Regions from separate parts of the Homo sapiens genome. Here regions 2 and 3 are each linked to region 1. Evidence: promoter capture Hi-C in 16 types of primary human blood cells and fetal thymus (Javierre and others, 2016). All regions are on one chromosome and are shown on one strand. Each heading gives the region's core, a stretch centred on a gene start or on the middle of the fragment in contact. The rest is flanking DNA. Distances are from core to core; before and after follow the strand shown.

The links. The method cuts DNA at HindIII sites, captures the fragments that hold promoters and counts their contacts. A CHiCAGO score of 5 or more calls a contact.
Region 2: a contact is called between a fragment that was not itself captured here and the fragment with the promoter of TRIM58 in region 1, in 1 of 17 cell types (megakaryocytes). The highest score is 11.0, in megakaryocytes.
Region 3: a fragment that was not itself captured here is called in contact with the fragment with the promoter of TRIM58 in region 1 in 1 of 17 cell types (megakaryocytes); the score reaches 6.3 in megakaryocytes.

What each region holds. Positions count from the first base shown.
Region 1 is chr1:247,854,044-247,858,436 of GRCh38, reverse strand. TRIM58 (tripartite motif containing 58) reads right to left here and starts at 1,250. Exons shown (of 6, transcript NM_015431.4): 1 at 771-1,250. The coding sequence starts at 1,190. RefSeq lists a cis regulatory region at 2,773-3,337. The HindIII fragment of the contact is 2,229 bases long and covers 137-2,365 here.
Region 2 is chr1:247,684,577-247,688,969 of GRCh38, reverse strand. No RefSeq gene overlaps it. Among named protein-coding and RNA genes, the nearest start is that of OR13G1, 7.0 kb to the right of the region's middle. RefSeq lists an enhancer at 878-1,479. The HindIII fragment of the contact is 4,475 bases long and covers 34-4,393 here.
Region 3 is chr1:247,703,629-247,708,021 of GRCh38, reverse strand. No RefSeq gene overlaps it. Among named protein-coding and RNA genes, the nearest start is that of OR6F1, 11 kb to the left of the region's middle. The HindIII fragment of the contact is 5,591 bases long and covers 1-4,393 here.

The DNA.
Region 1 (4,393 bases), core at 1-2,500:
GGGATTCAAGTGTGTTCAGAAAACATCCAAGAACTTTTGAAGGGCACCAGTAGGAAGAAATCGACACACAATTTCACAGATGCCACTCTGGGGACCAAATACTCCCATTTTGTTTTTCTTCTTTCTCTTTGAAGCTTCCCGGGCTACACCCCAAATGAAGCACCTCTTCATTGAGGATGTTCGAATCCTAAGTCCCCAAATCCCTGCTGATGGAGAGCCACCCGCTCCTACTTCAGGAGGCACGTGCACCTGAGCTTTGGAGGGGTCGGAACCCGTACCCAGCTCGACACTCTTCTTAACAACGCCCAAACCCGAGGGTTGCTTTGCTGACAACACTCATTTAATGTAAACACTGTGCAAAAGCAAAGCATTGCACAAATGAGAATTATTATGGCAAGTTTACGATATAGACGTACAATTGTTACCAAGAATGAACTGGACCACACAGCCCTCCCGACCAGAGCCCAGCTGAGGGACCAGACTATCCGCATCGGGAGAAACCAGCCCAGCGCGAGTTCGACGACAGGAGAGTGCTTGGGGGAGGGGCGGACGGTGTAAAATAATGGGTGTGTGTCGCAAAGGGGGTTACCACAGCCAAGGCAAAGAGACCCACACTGAGTGAGCCGCGTGGGCGGGGGGGACGGCGCGCGGTGGGGGGAGCGGCCGTGGGAGCCGCTCAGGAGACGGGTGGCCTCGGCGGCTCCGCTCCGGACTGTCGCCCGCTTCCCGGTCACCGCAGCGCCCGCAGCCCCCGCCGGGGGGCGCCTCACCTGGTAGCTGCCGGCGGCCTCCTGCAGCGGCGCCGTGCGGTGCGTCCTGTGCTCGGGGCCGGCGTCGCACACCCAGCACAGCGCCGCCTCGTCCTCCTCGCAGAAGCGGCTCAGGTCCTCGCCGTGCCGCGCGCATCGCCGCGCCCCGGGCCCCGCGCCCAACCCCAGCCGCCGCACGCTCTCCACCAGGCCCGCCAGCTGCCGGTTGGGGCGAAAGCCCGAGGGCCGGAAGGGGCCCCGGCACTGCGGACAGGCGTAGACGCCGCCCTGCGCGCCGTCCGACTTCTCGCAGAACTCGGAGATGCACCTGAGGCAGAAGCTGTGGCCGCAGTCCACGCTGACCGGCTCCTGCAGGAAATCCAGGCACACCGGGCACCGCGCATCCTCGCGCAGCCGCTCCCCGGGCGGCGCCCAGGCCATGACCCGCCTCCCGGAGGGCTGCGCTCCCGGCCGCCCGCACCGTCTCCCCTCGCGGTCTGCACAGGGGGAGGAGCCCACGCCCCAGGAAAGCAGGCGCCGACGGGTGGTGTCCGCTGGCTTCAGTTCAAGAGCTCAGACGAGCCACACCCGGTGAAAAGCCACCACTCAGGCGCTCCCTATGTCGGGGATAAAATTAACGTTGTGGTTCCCCGCCCCCGTCACACACACACCCAGGAAACTGGGCATTTCTAACTGGAATCCCTCCTCATATGCTATTTTCACTGGCAGTAGATCTGGAGAATTGCTAAATTCCCTCCTTCCTTCCATCTTTGTTTGTTTGTTTTTGTTTTTGTTTTTTTGAGAGGGAGTCTCGCTCTGTCGCCCAGGCTGGAGTGCGGTGGCGCGATCTCGGCTCACTGCAGCCTCCGCCTCCCGGGTTCAAGCGATTCTCCTGCCTCAGCCTCGCAAGCAGCAGGGATTACAGGCGCCCGCCACCATGCCCGGCTAATTTTTGTATTTTTAGTAGAGACGGGGTTTCACCATTTTGGTCAGCCTGGTCTTGAACTCGTGACCTCAGGTGATCTGCCCGCCTCGACCTCCCAGAGTGCTGGGATTACAGGCGCGAGCCACCGCGCCCAGCCTCCATCATCATTATATAGATTTAGTGCAGATTTCTGGGGTACCAGTGCAGTTTTGTTACATGGAGACACTGCATAAAGTCTAGGCTTTAGCGCAGGCATCGCTGTGATAGCGTAAATTGTTCTCATTAGGTGATCTCTCATCCCTCGCCCGCCTTCCACCCTCCGAGCCCCTTCCATTGTTACTGAGCTACTCCATGGTCCTCTCATGCCATAATCGTTTCTTAAAAGGCTTTCCCCCTTTATATGGCATAATCAATTTTTAAATGTTTTTTTCAAACTTCATTTTTTTCTCTTGCACTAATTACCTCTTGATAAAGAAATGAGACACCGCCTGACACGGGAAGATGCCTGCATAGGTGTGTGTAACTATAGGTTTACAGCCCAGCCAAAAATAATTCTAAATATTTAAATAAATATCTGGCCTAGTTCAATGAGGATCCTACAAGGAATACACACATGTTGTAGGATTGTTGCAAAGCCAGTCTTGGAGATGACAAAGCTATAGAGATACTCATCAGAGGAATAATTCAAGCTTAGCCTCTCAGTGGTGTACCTGTCAGATGGGGGAGGCTGAGACAGGAGCAAAATGATTTGACAGAGTATGTTACTTCATCCAGTGGAAGGCTGAATCAGGATAAAGTACATTAAAGTCTCTAATGTCGTCCAGAAAGTCGACAAGTCTGAGGCAGTGTCTGCATCTGTGCAAAATAACTTTAGTATGGTCGAGTTTGAAGTGATGGTGGGGTGTACCTGTGGCAAATCAATCTGTCCCTGAGCACACATTGTGTCTGTTTGTAGCCAGGAGTCTCAGACATTGCACCGGGTACTGAAAATACACATGTTAAGGAAAAGAGGTGGGACCCCATTTCTCCAGGAGCCTTAAGATCAACTAGAAGAGGTGGATATGAAATCATGCAAACATATAATTACAAACCAATAACTGCAAGGAAGGTCGCTCACCAGTCCTGCAGGAATATAACAGAGGACTCTGAATGAGGCTGCAGGGTCGGGGGCAGACACCTGAGGTCTCTGAGCAAACCTCTGATAGGTGAACACAAGCTGGCCAGCGGGAAGGGGGGCTCCGCAAGGCCGTGCCCCCAGAAGCCATGAAAGGTACAAGGTAAACTTCAGCAGGTGGGAGCAAGACATACCCAGATGACAGTGAGAAGCCAGGCAGGCTGGCAAGCTGGGCCAGAATATGGTGGCAGCAGATAAGGCTGCAGCAAGAGGCGGGGCCAGATGACTCAGGTCCTTGGGGATCCTCTGGGGTTTGTGGGTCTTCATTATAAGGACAAACTCTTGGGCTGGATCTCTGGCGACAGGCAGAGCAGAGGATCTTGAGGCCTAAAGGTTAAGTGCGCAATTAAAGCGAATAGATTCTTGGAGAACACACATGGATCTGTATTAGCAAAACACGAAAGATGTGGCATTAGAGAAAAAAGCTAAAGAGCAGAAGGCTTAGCAAAGAAAAACAGACTCTGGCTCCGGACTAAGGGCTGTGGCACTTGCTGAGAAGCTTGAGGCAAGCTGTGCCGCGTTTCTGCCCTGCATTTCTTCTGACGTGCAGTGAAGAGGTGTTAGTGTCATTCATATAAGGCCTTTCAGAGTATTAAACGAGCTAATAGATAGTAGACACTTAATATAGGTCCTGGCATGTTGGAAATACACACACACACACACACACACACACACACACACGTATATATATTGAGACAGGGTCTTGCTCTGCTGCCCAGGCTATAGTGTAGTGCCACAACCTGACTCACTGTAGCCTCTACCTTTCAGGCTCAAGTGATCTTCTCACCTCAGCCTCCCAAGTACCTGCGACTACAGGTGCCCGCCACCACGCCCAGCTAATTTTTGTATTTTTTGTAGAGACAGAGTTTCGCCCTGTTGCCCAGGCTGGTCTCAAACTCCTGGGTTCAAACAATCTCCCCACCTTGGCCTCCCAAAGTGCTGGGATTACAAGTGTGAGCCACCTCGCCCGGCCATGTAGCAAATATATTTAATTGAAGAAAAGGAAATGAAATAGTGAAGTGAATGGAAGGATGGTGAGTCAAAAGGTAAGCTACATTAGGAAGAGAGATTTTTTTCTATTTTGTTCACTGCTCTATCTATCCCCAGGACCTTGAAGAGTAACTGGCACAAATGGACACTCCACACATACTAACTGATTAAACAAGTTAATAAGTAAATGAACAGAATTAGGACAGTTTATCATAGGAGCTAATGAAAGAGGGAAGTTCAAAGATGATTATATTATGTCAAATGTCAAATCCATGTTTTTCTGCATTTTACATATATGATCTTGCCCTGGCTCTCCATAACTCTGGCAGATGCTGGAGCATTTTTCTATTTTGCAGGCATAACGAGACACAGTAAAACAATCCATTTACTCAAATATATGGGCCAGTTGATAACTAGGCTCACTTAAATTCAGATTTCCTAGTGCCTGTGATCCTAAGGAAAGGCCCCTGGCTTCTGACGTTGGGGGTCACTGTGGTTTTCAGTAGGGTGTGACGGAGTGGGCGAGCTCACTTCTTCCCCTGCTGGTCCTAGAGT
Region 2 (4,393 bases), core at 1,022-3,521, 170 kb after region 1:
AAAGTATTTTATTTCTCCTTCACTTATGAAGCTTAGTTTGGCTGGATATGAAATTCTGGGTTGAAAATTCTTTTCTTTAAGAATGTTGAATATTGGCCCCCACTCTCTTCTGGCTTGTAGGGTTTCTGCCGAGAGATCCGCTGTTAGTCTGATGGGCTTTCCTTTGAGGGTAACCCGACCTTTCTCTCTGGCTGCCCTTAACATTTTTTCCTTCATTTCAACTTTGGTGAATCTGACAATTATGTGTCTTGCAGTTGCTCTTCTCGAGGAGTATCTTTGTGGCGTTCTCTGTATTTCCTGAATCTGAACGTTGGCCTGCCTTGCTAGATTGGGGAAGTTCTCCTGGATAATATCCTGCAGAGTGTTTTCCAACTTGGTTCCATTCTCCACATCACTTTCAGGTACACCAATCAGACGTAGATTTGGTCTTTTCACATAGTCCCATATTTCTTGGAGGCTTTGCTCATTTCTTTTTATTCTTTTTTCTCTAACCTTCCCTTCTCGCTTCATTTCATTCATTTCATCTTCCATTGCTGATACCCTTTCTTCCAGTTGATCGCATCGGCTCCTGAGGCTTCTGCATTCTTCACGTAGTTCTCGAGCCTTGGTTTTCAGCTCCATCAGCTCCTTTAAGCACTTCTCTGTATTGGTTATTCTAGTTATACATTCTTCTAAATTTTTTTCAAAGTTTTCAACTTCTTTGCCTTTGGTTTGAATGTCCTCCCGTAGCTCAGAGTAATTTGATCGTCTGAAGCCTTCTTCTCTCAGCTCGTCAAAATCATTCTCCATCCAGCTTTGTTCTGTTGCTAGTGAGGAACTGCGTTCCTTTGGAGGAGGAGAGGCGCTCTGCATTTTAGAGTTTCCAGTTTTTCTGTTCTGTTTTTTCCCCATCTTTGTGGTTTTATCTACTTTTGGTCTTTGATGATGGTGATGTACAGATGGGTTTTCGGTGTAGATGTCCTTTCTGGTTGTTAGTTTTCCTTCTAACAGACAGGACCCTCAGCTGCAGGTCTGTTGGAATACCCTGCCGTGTGAGGTGTCAGTGTGCCCCTGCTGGGGGGTGCCTCCCAGTTAGGCTGCTCGGGGGTCAGGGGTCAGGGACCCACTTGAGGAGGCAGTCTGCCCGTTCTCAGATCTCCAGCTGCGTGCTGGGAGAACCACTGCTCTCTTCAAAGCTGTCAGACAGGGACACTTAAGTCTGCAGAGGTTACTGCTGTCTTTTTGTTTGTCTGTGCCCTGCCCCCAGAGGTGGAGCCTACAGAGGCAGGCAGGCCTCCTTGAGCTGTGGTGGGCTCCACCCAGTTCGAGCTTCCCGGCTGCTTTGTTTACCTAAGCAAGCCTGGGCAATGGCGGGCGCCCCTCCCCCAGCCTCGTTGCCGCCTTGCAGTTTGATCTCAGACTGCTGTGCTAGCAATCAGCGAGATTCCGTGGGCGTAGGACCCTCTGAGCCAGGTGTGGGATATAGTCTCGTGGTGCGCCGTTTCTTAAGCCAGTCTGAAAAGCGCAATATTCGGGTGGGAGTGACCCGATTTTCCAGGTACGTCCGTCACCCCTTTCTTTGACTCGGAAAGGGAACTCCCTGACCCCTTGCACTTCCCAGGTGAGGCAATGCCTCGCCCTGCTTCGGCTTGCGCACGGTGCGCACACACACTGGCCTGCGCCCACTGTCTGGCACTCCCTATTGAGATGAACCCGGTACCTCAGATGGAAATGCAGAAATCACCCGTCTTCTGCGTCGCTCACGCTGGGAGCTGTAGACCGGAGCTGTTCCTATTCGGCCATCTTGGCTCCTCCTCGATCTTTCTTTTCATTTTTTAACTTTTGCAGTATCTTTATCAAAGTATAACTGTAACTGTACATATTTATAGGGTTCATATTGGCACTGTGATACATGCATACAATGTGTGATTATCAAATCAGGGTAATTAGAATATCCATCACCTCAAAGATTGATCATTTCCCTTGTTGGAAACATTTAAATCTTCACTTCTAGCTATTTTGAAATATACAATTAATTTTTGCTAACTACAGTCACCATACTGTGCTACAAACAGTAGAATATATTCTATCTAACTGTATTTTTGTACCCAGTAAGCAACTTCTCTTCACCTCTCCTCCCTTCCCACCTTCTGGTAAAATATTAATATTATCAGATCTGCAAATATTAGTACATATAAAGAAATAGATAAACTGCCATATAATAAGAGCAGGGGACTTCTCTACTCCCTTTTAACAATGGATACATTATCCACCAAGAAAATCAATAAGAAAACATTGGACATGAACTACAATTTAGATTAAATTATAACACACTTATACAGAATGTATATTATGTATTCAATAGCAGAAGAATACACATTATTCTCAAGCACACATGAAACCCTTTACAGGACATATCATGTGTTTAGCCACAACACAAGCCTTAGCATTTTAAAAGACTGAAATACTATCAAGCATTTCTCATGAGTACACAATATAAAACTAGAAATCAGGAAGAGAATAAATATCAGAAAATTCACAAATATATGGAAATTCAACACCATGTTTTGAAACAACCAGCGGTTCAAATAGAAAATAAAAGGGATATTAAAAATATCTTGAGACAAACAAAATGAGTATACAAGATACCAAAATGTATGGGATTTAAAAATGCAGTAATAAGACAAAAGTTTATAGCAAAAAAAAAGCCTACATCTAAAAAGAAAGAGGCTCCCAAATAAAAAAAGACATAAAATTACACTTCAAAGAACTGGAAAAAATAACACATTAGGCCTAGAGTTAGAGAAAAAAAAGAGAGAGAGAGAGAGAAATAAGATTCAGAGCAGATTTAAATAAAAGAGACAAAAAATGGAAAAGAGCAACAAAATTAAGAGTTATTGTTTTTAAAAGATAAACAAATTGACAAACAGCCTCATGAAAGACTCAAATAAAATAGAAATAAAAATGAGACATAGAAATAGAAATGAGACATTACTACTGATACCAGAGAAATACAGAGGACATAAGAGACACTTACGAACAAGAAAACACCAACAAATTGGATAAGCTAGGAGAAATGAAGAAATTCCTAGATACGTAAAATCTACCAGAACTAAACTGCACTCTAGACCAAATGGACCTAGCAGATGTTTACAGAACATTCCATCCAACAGCTGCAGAATACACATGCTTCTCAATTGCACATGGAACATTCCCTAGAATAGATCATACATCAAGCCACGTAACAAGTCTTAACAGATTTAACAAGATTAAAATTTATAGTGTATTTTATTATATAAAACTATGAATCAACAAGAGGAGGAACTTTGGAAAGTTTACTAATACATGGAAACTGAACAAAATGCTTCTGAACAACCAATCGGTAAATGATGAAATTAAAAGGCAAATTAAAAACATTTTTGAGACAAATAAAAAAATACAACATATCAAAATCTTGGGATGTAGGAAAATCAGTTCTCAAAATTCAATTTATGCCAATAAACACCTGCATCAAAAAAGTAAGATCTTAAGTAAACAACCTAATATTGCACCACAAGTAAATAGAAAAATAAGAACAAACTTCATTGAAAATTATTAAAAGAAAAGAAACAATAAAGGTTAGGGCAGAAATAAGCAAAATAGAGACAAAACGTTACAAAAGAGCAATGAAAAAAATAATTTTTTTGAAAAAATAGACAAAATAACTTAGAAACAAAAGACAAGACTCAATAAAATAAAAGATTAAAAAAGACCTTACACAACTGATGCCACAGAAATATGAAGGATCATAAAATACTGTCATTAACTATTATAAGTCAACTAATTGGAACACCTACAGGAAATGAACAAATTATTAAACACATAAAACCTACCACAACGGTATTATTAAAAAAAAAAAAAATCTGAGCACACCAATAGTGAATAAGGACGTTGAATCAGTGGTAAAAATCTCCCATCAAAAAAAGAATGTCAAGATCAAATGGCTTCAATGCTGAATTCTATCAAACATTTAAGGAAAACATTAGTAACAATTATTCTCAAACAATTACAAAATTGGAATAGAAAGAAATTACTTTAAACTCATTTTGCAAGGTCAGTATTACTCTGATATCTCCTACAAAGCTATAGTCATCCAAACAACAACTTACTGACATAAAAACAAACAGATCAATGGGGCAGAATAGAGAGCCCAGCAATAAATACATGTATTTATAGCCAATTGATTTTTGACAAATATGTCAACAACACACAATGGGGAAAGGGCGGTCTCTTCAATAAATGTTGCTGAGAAAACTAGATATCCATATGCAAAAGAATCAAGTTAGAGCCTTATCTTACACTGTAAGCAAAAATTAATTCAAAATAGATTATACTCACAAAGGTAAAAGTTAAAACAGTAAAAGTACAAAAAGAA
Region 3 (4,393 bases), core at 881-3,380, 150 kb after region 1:
CAGGTCCAGGCTGCTGTGCCAGCTGCTCTGCCACTTGGGCCGTATGACCCAGCAGATCCAATAGTGCTTGAGGTGTCAGTGGCAGATAGTGATGCTGTTTGGGAGCCTTTGGCAGGCCTCCATAGGTGAATCACAGTGGACGCCTCTAGGATTTTGGAGCAAGGCCCTGCCATCTTCTGCAGATAACTACTCTCCTTTTGAGAGACAGCTCTTGGCCTGTTACTGGGCTTTGGTGGAAACTGAAAAATTGACTATAAGTCATCAAGTCAACATGCGACCTGAACTGCCTATCATGAACTGGGTGCTTTCTGACCCATCCAGCCATAAAGTGGGTTGTGCACAGCAGCATTCCATCATCAACTGGAAGTAGTATATATGGGATCAGGCTCCAGCAGATCCTGAAGGCACAAGTTACATGAGGAAATGGCTCAAATGCCCATAGTCTCCACTCCTGCCACCTGCCTTCTCTCCCCAAAGCCTGCACCGATGGCCTCATCAGGAGTTCCCTATGATAAGCTGACAGAGGAAGAGAGGACTAGGGCCTGGTTTACCGATGGTTCTGCATGATATGTAGGCACCACCAGAAAGTGGACAGCTGCAGCACTACAGCTCCTTTCTAGGACATCCCTGAAGGACAGCGGTGAAAGGAAATCTTCCCAGTGGGCAGAACTTCAAGCAGTGCACCTGGTTGTGCACCTTGCATGGAAGGAGAAATGGCCAGATGTGTGATTATGTACTGATTCATGGGCTGTAGCCAATGGTATGGCTGGATGATCAGGGACTTGGAAGAAGCATGATTGGAAAATTGGTGACAAAGAAATCTGGGGAGGAGGCATGTGGGTGGACCTCTCTGAGTGGACAAAAACTGTGAAGATATTTGTACCCCATGTAAGTTCTCAGCAATGGTTGACCTCAGCAGAGGAAGATTTTAATAATAAAGTGGACAGAATGACCCATTCCATGGACACCACACAGCCTCTTTCCCCAGCCACCTCTGTCATCGCCCACGTCTTTGGCCCATGGACAAAGTGGCCATGGTGGCAGGGATGGAGGTTACACATGGGCTCAGCAACATGGACTTCCACTCACCAAGGCTGACCTTGTTACGGCCACTGCTGAGTGCCCAACTTGCTAGCAGCAGAGACCATCACTGAGACCTCGATATGGCACCATTCCTCAGGGTGATCAGCCAGCTACCCAGTGGCAGGTTGATTATATTGGACCTCTTCCATCTTGGAAAGGGCAGAGATTTGTGCTCACTGGAATAGACGCTTACTCTGGATGGGAGTTTGCCTATCCTTCATGCAAGGCTTCTGCCAAGACTACCTTCCATCAACTCATAGAATGTATTATCCACTGTCATGGTATTCCACATAGCGTTGCCTCTGACCAAGGCACTCACTTTATGGCTGAAGAAGTGCAGCAGTGGCTCATGTTCATGGAATTCACTGGTCTTACCATGTTCCCCATCATCCTGAAGCAGCTGGATTGATAGAATGGGGGAATGGCCTTTTCAAGTCACAATTGCAATGCCAACTAGGTGACAGTACTTTGCACGGCTGGGGCAAAGTTCTTCAGAAGGCCATGTATGCTCTGAATCAGCGTCCAATATATGGTACTGTTTCTCCCATAGCCAGGATTCACGGATCCAGGATTCAGTGGGTGGAAATGGAAGTGGCACCACCCACCATCACTCCTAGTGATCCAGTAGCAAAATTTTTGCTTCCTGTTCCCACAATATTACGTTCTTCTTGTCTAGAGGTCTTTGTTCCAGAGGGAGGAATGCTGCCACCAGGAGACACAACAATGATCCTATTAAACTGGAAGTTAAGATTGCCACTTGGACACTTTGGGCTCCTCCTATCTTTAAGTCAACAGGCTAAGAAGGAAGTTACCGTGTTGGCTGGGGTGATTGGCCCAGGCTATCAAGATGAAATCAGTCTACTACTCCACAACGGAGGTGAAGAAGAGTATGCATGAAAACCAGGAGATCCATGAGGGCATCTCTTAGTATTACCATGCCCTGTGATTAATGTCAATGGGAAACTACAACAGCCCAATCCAGGCAGGACTACAAATGGCCCAGACCCTTCAGGAATGAAAGTTTGGGTCACTCCATCAGGAAAATAACCACGATGTGTTGAGGTGCTTGCTGAGGGCAAAGGGAATACAGAATGGGTAATAGAAGAAGGTAGTCATCAGTACCAACTGTGACCACATGACCAGCTGCAGAAATGGGGACTGTAATTGTCATGAGTATGTCTTCCTTCTTTTGTTAAAAACATGTTTGTGCATGTATACACTTGTATTGAGAAAATATCTGTATTTTATTTCTTTTTTCCTTTATCATGTGACATAAAATTTATTGACTTCATATCAGCATTTAAATATTGTTAACTTTATGTAATAGTATTTGAGTTGGGGATTGGTGTGTTTCCAGTTGTATGAGGGATAGTTGTATTATGTTAGGCATAATTATGACCTTATTATTGTCTTTATTTGAAGATTAGGTATGATTTCAGGAGATGTGTATGGGTTCAAGTTGACAAAGGGTGGACTTGTGATGGTTAATACTGAGCAACAATTTGATTGGATTGAAGGATACAAGGTATTGCTCCTGGGTGTGTCTGTGAGGGTGTTGCCAAAAGAGATTAACATTTGAGTCAGTGGGCTGGGGACGGCAGATCCACCCTTAATGTAGTGGACACAATCTAATCAGCTGCCAGGGAATATAAAGCAGGCAGAAAAACATGAAAAGGAAAGATCTAGCCTCCCAGCCTACATCTTTCTCCTGGGCTGGATGCTTCCTGCCCTCCAACATAGGACTCCAAGTTCTTCAGTTTTGGGACTCGGACTGGTTCTCCGTGCTCTTCAGCTTGCAGACACCCGATTGTGGAACTTTGTGATCACGTAAGTTAATACTTAGTAAACTCTCCATACATGTATATATATGTTAATATATATCCTATTAGTTCTGTCTCTCTAGAGAACCCTAATACAGTACTCATAAAAAACACTGCGTACCTGATCTGTTCCCTTCATTTATTCATTCTGAGGATTAGTTTCAGATCCATGGCATTCCTAAACATATTCTTGGAGATTTCTAAAAATCAAAATTCCTAATAAAAATCAGATTGCTACCCTCTGAGGATGAATAGCCTTCCTGTTTCCATAGGTTAGGCCTCAATTTCCAAAACCTCCAAAAGCAGCACCTACTATCTATCTCAACAAGAGTTATCTTCAACACCTCTCTACTTCTGCTACTCACCTCAGTACTGAAAAGAAGAATGTAGTCTTCAGCTTTTCAAGTGAATGAATCATTTTGATATGGAATTGTATCTAAAACTTAATGTTAAGTGAAGGAGTATCGAAATGAACAGAATGCTTTCATTGACTCAGGTCTTTTCTTTCTATACTGATTTAAAAACACACCCCACTTAAGCATAATTTGCATAATTAATTTTCAAGCAAATATACTTGACTACTAGAATTCTGATTCACTTTTCTTTCTTCTTTCTTTAGCCTATAACTTACGATGATACATTTGTAGATAAAATACATATTATTCAGAATTATCTTCCAGTAATAAATTACTGGCAGTGGAAAAACAATAGATGCCCCATCAGGGAAAATAGAAGTTTGAAAAAAATAGGTTTAACCATAATAAATTGCCTTTGTACAACAAATACAGCACTGAAGGAATATAACAATCAATCTAAAAATTAAATCTATGCACACATAATTTTTGTACAATGGTGAGGGTAAAATTAAATTATATTTAGTCATTATATTCAAAACAGCAATTCCATTACTATCTACCAAAAAGAAAATAAATCATTACAATATATAAAGACACATGCACACGTATGTTCATTGCAACACTATTCACAATAGCAATGACATGGAATCAACCTAAATGTCCATCACAAATAGACCGGATAAAGAAAATGTGGTACATACACACCATGGAATACTATGCAGCTGTAAAAAAGAATGAGATCATGTCGTCTGCAGAAACATGGATGGAGCTGGAGACCATTATCCTTAGCAAACTAACCCAGGAACAGAAACCAAATTCCACATGTTCTCACTTTTAAGTGGGAGCTAAATGGTGAGAACACATGGACACATAGAGGGGAACAATACATACTGGGGCGTATCATGGGTGGAGGGTGGGAGGAGGAAGAGAATCCAGAAAAATAACTAATGGCTACTAGGCTTAATACCTGGGTGATGAAATAATCTGTGCAACAAACCCCCATGACACAAGTTTACCTACGTAACAAACCTGAACATGTACCCCAGAATTTAAAACAAAACTTAGATAAATAAACAAATACATTTATTAAAAGTAGTTCAGGATTTGCTAGCAATTCTCCCACATTTCACCCCA